2 separate regions of the Homo sapiens genome follow, and region 1 is linked to region 2. The links are contacts of gene promoters, found by promoter capture Hi-C in human tissues and cell types (Jung and others, 2019). All regions are on one chromosome and are shown on one strand. The core of a region is centred on a gene start or on the middle of the fragment in contact, and the rest is flanking DNA. Distances in the headings are between cores, read along the strand shown.

What was found. The method cuts DNA at HindIII sites, captures the fragments that hold promoters and counts their contacts. A contact is called where the count stands out against the background at its distance.
Region 1: a fragment that was not itself captured here is called in contact with the fragment with the promoter of CHRNA5 in region 2 in 2 of the 25 tissues and cell types used here (dorsolateral prefrontal cortex and spleen).

Annotation. Positions count from the first base shown.
Region 1 is chr15:78,890,379-78,895,339 of GRCh38, forward strand. It overlaps MORF4L1 (mortality factor 4 like 1), which reads left to right. Exons shown (of 12, transcript NM_006791.4): 6 at 611-636; 7 at 1,106-1,194; 8 at 1,834-1,935; 9 at 3,161-3,249; 10 at 3,680-3,852; 11 at 4,442-4,526. Among named protein-coding and RNA genes, the nearest start is that of MORF4L1, 20 kb to the left of the region's middle. The HindIII fragment of the contact is 8,549 bases long and covers 1-4,961 here.
Region 2 is chr15:78,563,355-78,568,814 of GRCh38, forward strand. CHRNA5 (cholinergic receptor nicotinic alpha 5 subunit) reads left to right here and starts at 2,166. Exons shown (of 6, transcript NM_000745.4): 1 at 2,166-2,471. The coding sequence starts at 2,366. RefSeq lists an enhancer at 1,364-1,553 and a silencer at 2,364-2,453. The HindIII fragment of the contact is 8,456 bases long and covers 1-5,460 here.

The sequences.
Region 1 (4,961 bases), core at 1,613-4,112, 330 kb after region 2:
ACACCTTTTTTTTTTGGTGGGCCTAATAATGTAGTATATACTATAACATATATTAATATAACCCTGGAAGAACGAAGTTGTTTACTAAAGTGTTCTTGGTTTGCTTTTCTTTTTTTTTTGTCTTTGAGACAGGGTCTCTGTCACCAAGACTGGAGTGCAGTGGTGCAATCAAGGCTCACTGCAGCCTTGGCCTCCTGGGCTCAAGCAATCCTCTCACCTCAGCTTCCCAAGTAGCTGGGACTATAGGCGTTTGCCAGTATGCCCAGTTAATTTTTGTATTTTTTATAGAGAACAGGATTTGCCATGTTGCCCAGGCTGGTCTGGAATTTTGAGCTCTAGAGATCCACCCCCTCTTCACCTCCCAAAATGCTGGGATTACAGGCATGTGCCACTGCGCCTGGCTTGGTTTATTTTTTTCTATTATGTGGAGAGAGATGGGAATTTAACCAACTATCAATAAAAATCCTTGTGTCTGAGTAGGACACATATTTACCACCTGATCCTTTATCCAAGTTAGTATTTCTCTGTGAACTTAACCCTGATAAAGGGAGTTGAAACAGAGGCAGTTTTACTGGAAATAATTATTTTTCTTTTTTTTCTCTCCTTTTAGGAAAACGAAAAAGAACAAACAGAAAAGTAAGAATATTAACTTTCTTAACGTTAATTTATGTTACCTCTATGACATTGACGTTTTTATTTTGAAAGCTATGAAATTTTGGAGTAAGCTTATGTTTATTGATTATCTCAAATAGGAGTCTCACAGCAGTGTTATAAAATAGGTACATGGTGGTAGAGACCTCTTTTTGCCAAGGAGAAACTTGTGAGCATTTATTTTCATCTGCTTTAGTCTTAATGTCTCCCACTGAGAAGATAACATTTATAAATAAATGGAAGATGGTGATACTAAATGTTGTCTATACTAAATGTTCGGTAGAGCTCTTCATGAAAGTTGTATTTTTGGTAGGAATATGATTCTTTAACTTAGATTGAGGTAACAGCTGTGTAATGGAGAAATAATGAAAAGGGTTAATGTGTCAAGAGACTATTTTCCTTATAGAGTTTGTTAAATTAGCTAAATGAGACCCCTCCCCGCCAACATTTACAGCACCTGGAAATGGAGATGGTGGCAGTACCAGTGAGACCCCTCAGCCTCCTCGGAAGAAAAGGGCCCGGGTAGATCCTACTGTTGAAAATGTGAGTTTTTCTTGTGTTTATGAATAGCATGTTAGGATTTTTAGTCTCAGTTACATGACATAACCATGGGAGCTTTGATTATCTACAAGATTTGCTTACATGGTTAATACCTGAAATTAAAAATTTTCTCTTTTGGGGGTAAAGGATAAATTTCTGTATATCTTTATTTCACCTGTAGCTCCAGATTTACCTACCCAATTGATCATTTGTTGTGTAAGCTTCATGTTCACCTACAAGACTATTTCTTTGGTGTTACGTATTTATTTTTAGGAGTTAAAGATGTACCTTTAAGATGGTTGTGTTTGGAATAGTTTTGATATCCATGGTAAATAAGAAAATACTAAGTTAAAATGTATCAAGTCAGGGTGTTTCATTTCCTGAACAAGAGGAACCTTACTGAAGAATTTTTACCTTTACAAGAAAATGCACTAAATAGACTATAGTTCAGGTCAGATTCTTTTCTCCCAACAGCGAACCGCGTATGGTCGTTTTTATTAATGATTTTAAAAAATGACAGTACAGCTGTATGCTTGGCTACTTTAAGATTTATCCCTAGTGCCTCTAAAAGTCAGCTCCCCTCCATGTTTGGTATTTAGCAAGAAAGGTTAGGTTTTTAATACTCCTCCTGTTTCTGTTTAGGAGGAAACATTCATGAACAGAGTTGAAGTTAAAGTAAAGATTCCTGAAGAGCTAAAACCGTGGCTTGTTGATGACTGGGACTTAATTACCAGGCAAAAACAGGTAACTTGAAAAGCTACCCAGATTGTTAAGCTATATGATACATTCTTGCTAGCAAAAAAAGTTTTTAAAGGAAAATGTTATATTGACTTGAATTATTAAGGTATGACTGATAAAATAATATTTTAATTTAGAGGCTGAACACTTTAGAACTACTACCAGAAAGAGTAAGTTAGAAGAATAAAAGTTCACATATAAATTTTATGAGGTTATAATGATAAAGGTGGAAATAACTCATTTTTGGAGATTGCTAGGGCAGGAACTCGTTCTGAAAATTCATAAAGGTGAAGAAGCATATGTCTTACTGTCATTGCTAATGGTAGGCCATAGAAAGCACACACCACCACCTGCAAGGTATTCATGACCCTGAAAAGAACCTGAATCTTACTAAGCGCCTGGATCTATTGTTAGTTTGCAGGAAATAGGATGTTTAATGGAGTGACATGTTTGTCAATCGTTGAACTCTATAATTGAGAATTTTATAGGACAAATGAAGCTATTTGAACAAATGGCATAGGTAGGGTTAGGGATAGTTGGGGGAGATGATTAGGGACTGCTTGAGGATTATGAGACTTAAGAGACCTATCAGTCATATACAGTATGTGGATATAGTTTGAATTCTGATTTGAATCCTTTGGAGGGTTATGCAGTTACAGCTAAACTGCGAAGATTCAAGCATGGCTGTATCACTTATTATTTGTGAGTTTGGACAAGTTTCTTAGCCTTTTTGTGCTTCTGTTTTTGCATTTAATGGAATAATAGTTTGTATTTGACAATGCTGATGAGAGGACGAAAAGATAATTATTTTAATGCTTTAGACTAGATCTAGCAAATAGTATGCATAACAGTAAATGATGACTTGGTAGTACCACAAAGGCACATTCGTGTCTGTTATGTGTGTGTGACAGATTGACATTTTTAAAAGCTGTGCTGTTCTGTCTAGTAGAGTCTCATTTGGCTGTTTAAATATATAGATGCTCCATAACTTAGAATGGGGTTACATCGCAATAAACCCAGCAGAGAGTTGGAAAATTAAGTCCAAACCATTGTAAGTTGGGAACTGTCTGTAGTTTCTCAGCCACATTATCCATGTTTTAAGTGCTGAATAGTATCTTTCCTAATTTGAAATACTGTTACTGTTACCTGATCTTTGTATAAAAACTTGCCTGGTATGATTTTTCTTTAAAAAAGAGAGTGCTTATATTTAAGCATATTTTTGTCTTCATAGCTCTTTTATCTTCCTGCCAAGAAGAATGTGGATTCCATTCTTGAGGATTATGCAAATTACAAGAAATCTCGTGGAAACACAGATAATAAGTAAGAATATACATTTTTCAGATGACACTCAAAAGACATTTAAAAAAGTTTCTAAATAAGTCATCTGAAACTTGTACTGACTCCGAAACATTAATACCACCAGAAACTAGCAAAATAGAATTTCACTGCTTTGACACAGGAGTTGGCTGGCTGACTTTTTCTTAAAGGGCCAGATAGTAAATATTTTAGGTAAAATTTAAGCTATCATGTAGGTATTTGCATAACCATTTAAAATTTAACCATCTGAAAATGTAAGAATCATCTTAATTGCTTTAGTTTGTCAAACCCTGCTTTCATATGCCCTTTAAAAAAATCTCAGCTATGGTTCATTATTACTAGCTCAGCTTTTAATTCTTTAAATTGGTTGAATTATTCTCTATGTCAGTTATTTTTATTGACCAGTTTTGGAATATTTTTGTTCATTTATCAGGGAGTATGCGGTTAATGAAGTTGTGGCAGGGATAAAAGAATACTTCAACGTAATGTTGGGTACCCAGCTACTCTATAAATTTGAGAGACCACAGTATGCTGAAATTCTTGCAGATCATCCCGATGCACCCATGTCCCAGGTGTATGGAGCGCCACATCTCCTGAGATTATTTGGTAATATGTCATGTAGAAAATAATGGATTTTACTTTTTGGGGGGTCTTCTCTAAATGAATAAGAGGTAAAGTAATTAACTTTCCAAAACATGACTCCCATTTTAATTTGAACTTTTATCTAGAATGTTAAATAGCAAAATCTCTTTAGGAGCAAGAGTTTTAAAAATCGTGTATTTTATTTTATAATTTTTTTTTTTTGAGACAGACAGTCTCTGTTGCCCAGGCTGGAGTGCAGTGGTGCGATCTTTGCTCACTGCAACCTCCGCCTCCTGGGTTCAACAATTCTCCTGCCTCAGCCTCCCAAGTAGCTGGGATCACAGGTGTGCACCACCACATCTGTGGTAATTTTTGTATTTTCTGTAGAGATGGGGTTTCACCACGTTCGCCAGGGTGGTCTTGAATACCTGACCTCAAGCGATCGCCTATCTCGGCCTCCCAAAGTGCTGGGATTACAGGCGTGAGCCACTATGCCCGGCCTAAAATCATGTATTTTAAAGGAATTGGTGGTGTTTGCTCACATAATTAAAATACATGGTTGTAGTGCCCCTGCCTTGGATGTAACTTTGGATAAATTCTCTTGTTTAAACAGTACGAATTGGAGCAATGTTGGCTTATACACCTCTGGATGAGAAGAGCCTTGCTTTATTACTCAATTATCTTCACGATTTCCTAAAGTAAGTCTGTGCTTGAAATTATAAACATGGATTTGAAAATTAGCGTGTAATGGGAGGGATTGGCAGTATAGATGCTAAAACATTAAACATTATATTGGTACAGGCATAGATAGTTGGTAATGGAGCAGTAAAAGTAAGTGCAAACACATGGGAGTCTCAGAAATGATAGATGGTATATAGATGATATATTGGTGCAGTAGGGGAAAGCAGTGGAGTCTGGTAGATTGGTGATAAGACAGCTGACAGTTTGGAAGAAAACAAAGCCACACTTGTCATGTACCAAAATTCTAGATGAATCTGAAGTTTAAAATTAAATTGTTAAGATAATGAAAGGAGAAATGTAATATTTTCATAGTTCTATAGTGTTCCATTTATGATAAATGGTTGGTACCTTTAATACACACAGAGTTCTTCGGTAAGAAATGAACAAACCAG
Region 2 (5,460 bases), core at 916-3,415:
AAAAAGACATAGCCTCTAGGCTGAGAAATCCACTATCTAGTAGAGAACATAATTATGGAGAAATAGATAAAGAGAAGGCAGGTGGCATTTGAAATGAGCCTTGAAGAAAGCGTGGGTTTGGATATTCAGAAGAGGGGAGAAGGAAGGATAAATGAAGACAGGAAAGTGTAATAAAAATTCCACAATCTTCAGAGGAAAAGGTGGTGTCTGGGATGCAAGAACTGTGTAATAGTCCCTTTGGCTAAGTCTCAGAAAGTTGGTAGATAGATGCCACTTTAGGGGAACTTTGTAGGTGGTGGCTGCAGCAACAGCAGCAATTTTCATTGTCATTTGGTCAGCTAATGTCTCCTAGCAGTGTGAAGATGCCTGTTATCAGAGTCAGGTGTAGCACCATATCCAGCAACCATGAGTAATTGGCGTATCCCCCTGGAAAAACCATGTAAGATGTAGACATTATATTCTGATTATTTGTTTGGATTTTAAAATGCCCAACAAATGTCACGCTTTGCCTTTCACTTAATAGCAACAATTAATAGTGTTTTTCATAGATTATGTAAATAACCATCATTCTCATGATTATTGATATAACATCTAGGAGTTCCAATTATACTTGCAGTGGCTGCACTGACAACCATTTCATTCTAGTTTTGCCACTGACAGGTACTGTGACCTTCAGCAGTTATTCAACTCCTCTGTTTCAAATCAGTTAGCTGTAAAAGCAGAATAACATTTTAAAGTCATCCAAACACTGTTAGGATGAATTGCATAAGTGCCTGTAAGTCCCATAAATTCTTCAGAGTAAAATGTAAATTTGCAGTGAAAGGATGATAGGTACTGTCTTTCATTTCTGTGCAGAAGTGCAATTAATTACTAATCTGGTTAACATCTTGTGCATCCCTTTTCTGTGGCCCCTTTGTTTAAGTCCTGTTTAAACAGATTGGCTCCATTGGATGTAATTTACATTTTTCCAGCTGTATTTGGACCTAAGAAGAGCATCTTCACTGAATTTTGCTGTTTAGATTCTTTGCAACCAGGTTTAGTTTTTCACAGATTTACTAGTCTGGAGGGTGGAGTGAAATTTTTGCTCACAATGAGTCTTAGAGGTGTCACCTCCATAAAGCGTTCTGTGAAGAGTCAGCGGCTCCCTCTGCCACTGAAGTTTAAAGATAATTCGCCTGAATCCCTTCAGCCAAATGAAGCTTTCTAATTATGGACAGAGAGGATGAAATATAGGGTCTGGAGGGATTTGAGACGGGTTTCCAGCAGTCGGCACCAATCTCCACCAGAGGTGCTAAGTGTCTGTAGCAGATAGTCACTAATATTTACAAATGTTAATTGATGACAACACGGAGGGCGATGCCCACGTTTGAGGCGACTGCATATCATTTCCGGGGATGGCTTGAGTGAGTGTCAGAGCTGTACCTTCCCGAGTCCTCTAGTTTATCTGCCTCGGTTCCTCGCTTCCAGACGAGGAAACAGGCCCAGAGAGGAAAGTGACTTGCCCAGGGTTGTCTCGCTGGTCCACAACACAGGTCTCCTGGTGGGGACCCCTTGGCTGACACGACAGCCCCAGGAGGCAGTCAAGCTGCGACTGGTACTTCCTGGTGAGAAAGACTTGAGTGGGCAGCGGGGCCCATGGAGAGCGCTGCAGCCTGGAGCAAGTCCCCCACCACTGTGATTCTGCCCCAGCCTCCAGCTTGTTTCTTTCTGATCACAACTCGGAATTACTTTATTTACATTTTCTATCAGCTGGGAGCAATCTGTCCCTCTGCTTCCCCTTTTGGTGCTGAGCACAGAGCAGACATCAATGAATAGCTGTTATCTTAAGGTGTGCAGTGACTAGGCCAAGGACATCCGGTGGTTAGAGAAGGACGCGCCTGCGATGCCAGCCTCAAGTCTTTGCCTTCCTGGAACTCTGCTCCAGGGTCGCACCTGCCCAAAGGAAGGCCTGGAGGCGGGGGCCAGGGCGATGGGGCTGGGCCAGGCGTGGAAAAAGAGGAGCTAGGAGCAGACAGGGTTGGACCAGAGGCGGGGCGGGGTGGGGAAAGGGTTGGTGGGGATCGGAGGCGGGGCTATGAATAGACCGGACTGGGCCAAAAGGAACAAGGCGAGGATTGGGCGGGGCCAGAGGGAAATAGGGGCGGGGCTAGGCGCCGGGAGCTTCCACATGCGTCCCGAGCCCGCCAGAAGCTGCTAGGCTGAGGCTGCTGTCCCGGCGGGAGCTGTGGCGCGGAGCGGCCCCTCTGCTGCGTCTGCCCTCGTTTTGTCTCACGACTCACACTCAGTGCTCCATTCCCCAAGAGTTCGCGTTCCCCGCGCGGCGGTCGAGAGGCGGCTGCCCGCGGTCCCGCGCGGGCGCGGGGCGATGGCGGCGCGGGGGTCAGGGCCCCGCGCGCTCCGCCTGCTGCTCTTGGTCCAGCTGGTCGCGGGGCGCTGCGGTCTAGCGGGCGCGGCGGGCGGCGCGCAGAGAGGTAAGCCCGGGCTGCAGAGGGGCGGGGCGGGAGCTGGCCCGGACTCCACATCGCGGTGCCCAGGAAGCCGCCAGGCGACGGCCGCCGGAAAACCTGGTTGCGAGGGGAGGTGGGTTTTTTTCTCCTGGGGGCTTGGAGTGAGGTTTCAGTTTAAATGTCCAGATTTGCTCATTTAAATGCAGAGAAAGGGCTACTTGGGTGGGTTTTCTTTGTTGTTCCACGACCTGCATCGCTGGAGACTACGAGGCTGGCTTAGCGTATACTTCCACACAACTTTTTCAGTAAAAGATGCCACTCTTGTCCAGCAGGGCTTTCCTGTCCTGGTGGCAGCCAAGCTTCCCATTTTGTTGCCCATTTACGGGATATAGAGACTCTGGGGTTCATTCTAGGGGTTGGGACTTATCTTCCACCTCCTGCCCGCCGCCTCTTCCTCCATCCCTGTCCCCTACCCACCGCAGCATTTGAAAACCTTTCCTTTCGCCGGAGATGAAAGGTGTGTGTTGTAGCAGGCTAGGCGGCCAACTTCCCTGGCTTCGGGGCTAATCGTTTGCATCCAGAGTTCCTCACTAGCTCCTTAGAGCACAGCTTTTTTCAGCCTGCTGTTTTTCAAGAGGTTTTGGACAGGAATGGAAACAACAAAAGAAATCGCGTAGTCCTACATGTTTCAAGTGCTTGGGAAAGTTTTAGAGTCAGTTCTCTCAATACCTTGAAGAAAAACACGTTTGTGGAGCAGCTATGGTGTGATCTAAACGTAGAAAAGCTAAGCATCCGTTAAGCAAGATATGATTACAGAAGTTCACTACGTCTGTATTTCAGGTTTTATGAGTGAGTTTCTTAAATAGTGGAAATATTGCAAGAACCTTTTCTTGCCTTTCCTTTGTTAAGGTTTTTAATCTATGGCTCCTGATTTTAGGAAGTAATAAGACTAGAATAATTCATTGCAGGATGTATTGCTTAGTGTAGACCGAAGAGAAATAAGATGGAGGGTGATTTAAACAAATGAAGAAAATCCTGGGCAGAGAGAGTTAAACAGAAAGAAAGGAATGTGATTTTGGAGCCAGGCAAACCTGTATTCAAATTATGGCTCTGGTGCATCCTGACTGGACGAACTTCTCTCAGCTGTTTTCCTTCTTTAAGAAATGGCGGGCCGGGCGCGGTGGCTCACGCCTGTAATCCCAGCACTTTGGGAGGCCGAGGCGGGCAGATCACGAGGTCAGGAGATCGAGACCATCCTGGCTAACACAGTGAAACCCCGTCTCTACTAAAAATACAAAAAAATTAGCCGGGCGTGGTGGTGCGCGCCTGTAGTCCCAGCTACTCGGGAGGCTGAGGCAGGAGAATGACGTGAACCCGAGAGGCGGAGGTTACAGTGAGCCGAGATCGCGCCACTGCACTCCAGCCTGGGCAACACAGCGAGACTCCGTCTCAAAAAAAAAAAAAAAGAAAAGAAAAGAAATGGGGGTAATAATCATGCTTACCTCTCAGAGTTCTTTTGAGGATTAAATAATGCATATAAAATGCCAGGCACAGTGCCTGACACTCGAGAAAATGGTAGTTCTCTACCCCTTTTGATGAAACTGAACTTTAAAAATCTGTTTCATGTCTTTTAATATAGAACACTGTAGCCAAGCATTAAATAGTGTAAATAGCTATCTCCCTTCATGCATGGTGTTCAGTGTTATAACAAAGTGAAATCGATTAGTTCCTGCTTTCTGCCCCACTTAGTTAATATCTCTCTCATAATAACCATCTGGTTCTATTGCACTTCTGTTTCCTCCTGCTTCCACGTAAGCTCCTTAAGAACTGTGATTCTTGTTTATCTTTGTATCGCCAACACCTGCCTTAATGTAGGAGCCCAGTGAAGGTTTGCGGAAGGAAGGAGTGGAACAGTATTACCTCTCTGGATATTAGTTTCTCCATCTGGATGGTGAGGGGCCATTAAAGGATCCCCCTTCCACCTTGAAAATTATAAGATTCTGTGTGCTCTTAGAAGTGATCATCTTGAAGAACAAAGTGATACTGAATGGATGATGTAATTGCACACTTGCTCTTAACTGTTAATATGCATTTGTGTACAACTGTCGTTCCATGTGGGTGGCTGAAAGTACTGTCTGGAAATAGGAGACCTGCCACTCGCTGTCTGTGTTTCCTTGGACGTATTACTTGACCTTGCTGATTCTTTGTTTCTCTCTCTTTAAAATGAAAGGGCGGTAGTAGATGTTTTTAAGTCAACTTTAAGTTTTTTAAGTTCAAATATAATTACCTTTATTTTTACAATTTATTGTTTTCATATTCGTCTTAGGTTCTTAATAGTAACTTTTCCCTGTGGTTTTCTGTGAGCCAGTTCCCAGGTAAAGAGAATATCTAGTCAGCCCGCAGCTATTATTTGGCTGATGAACGGTCACAGAGCTGTGGAAAGTGGCTCAGGAGACAATTAAAGTATAATATATTAAAGTATAATGAACTAGTACATCAAGATAATACAAGCATTTTAAACTGACCTGTGATTGGGACAGTGATTATGGAAGTTAGATAGTCATTAACTACCTAACTAGTTATATTTCTTACTATTTCTTAGCTATGTGACATTTTAAAGCCAATGGTTATATTTCTTAGCTGTGTGACATTTTATTTTTTTAATTTTTTTTTTAAAATATTACTTTAAGTTCTGGGATACATGTGCAGAACCTGCAGGTTTGTTACATAGGTATACATGTGCCATGGTGGTTTGCTACACCTATCAACCTGTCATCTAGGTTTTAAGCCCCACATGCATTAGGTATTTGTCCTAATGCTCTCCCTCCCCTTGCCCCCAACCTCCCGACAGACCCTGATGTGTGATGTTCCCCTCCCTGTGTCCATGGATTCTCATTGTTCAACTCCCACTTATGAAAGAGAACATGCGGTGTTTGGTGTCTGTTCCTGTGTTAGTTTGCTGAGCATGATGGTTTCCAGCTTCATCCATGTCCCTGCAAAGGACATGAACTCA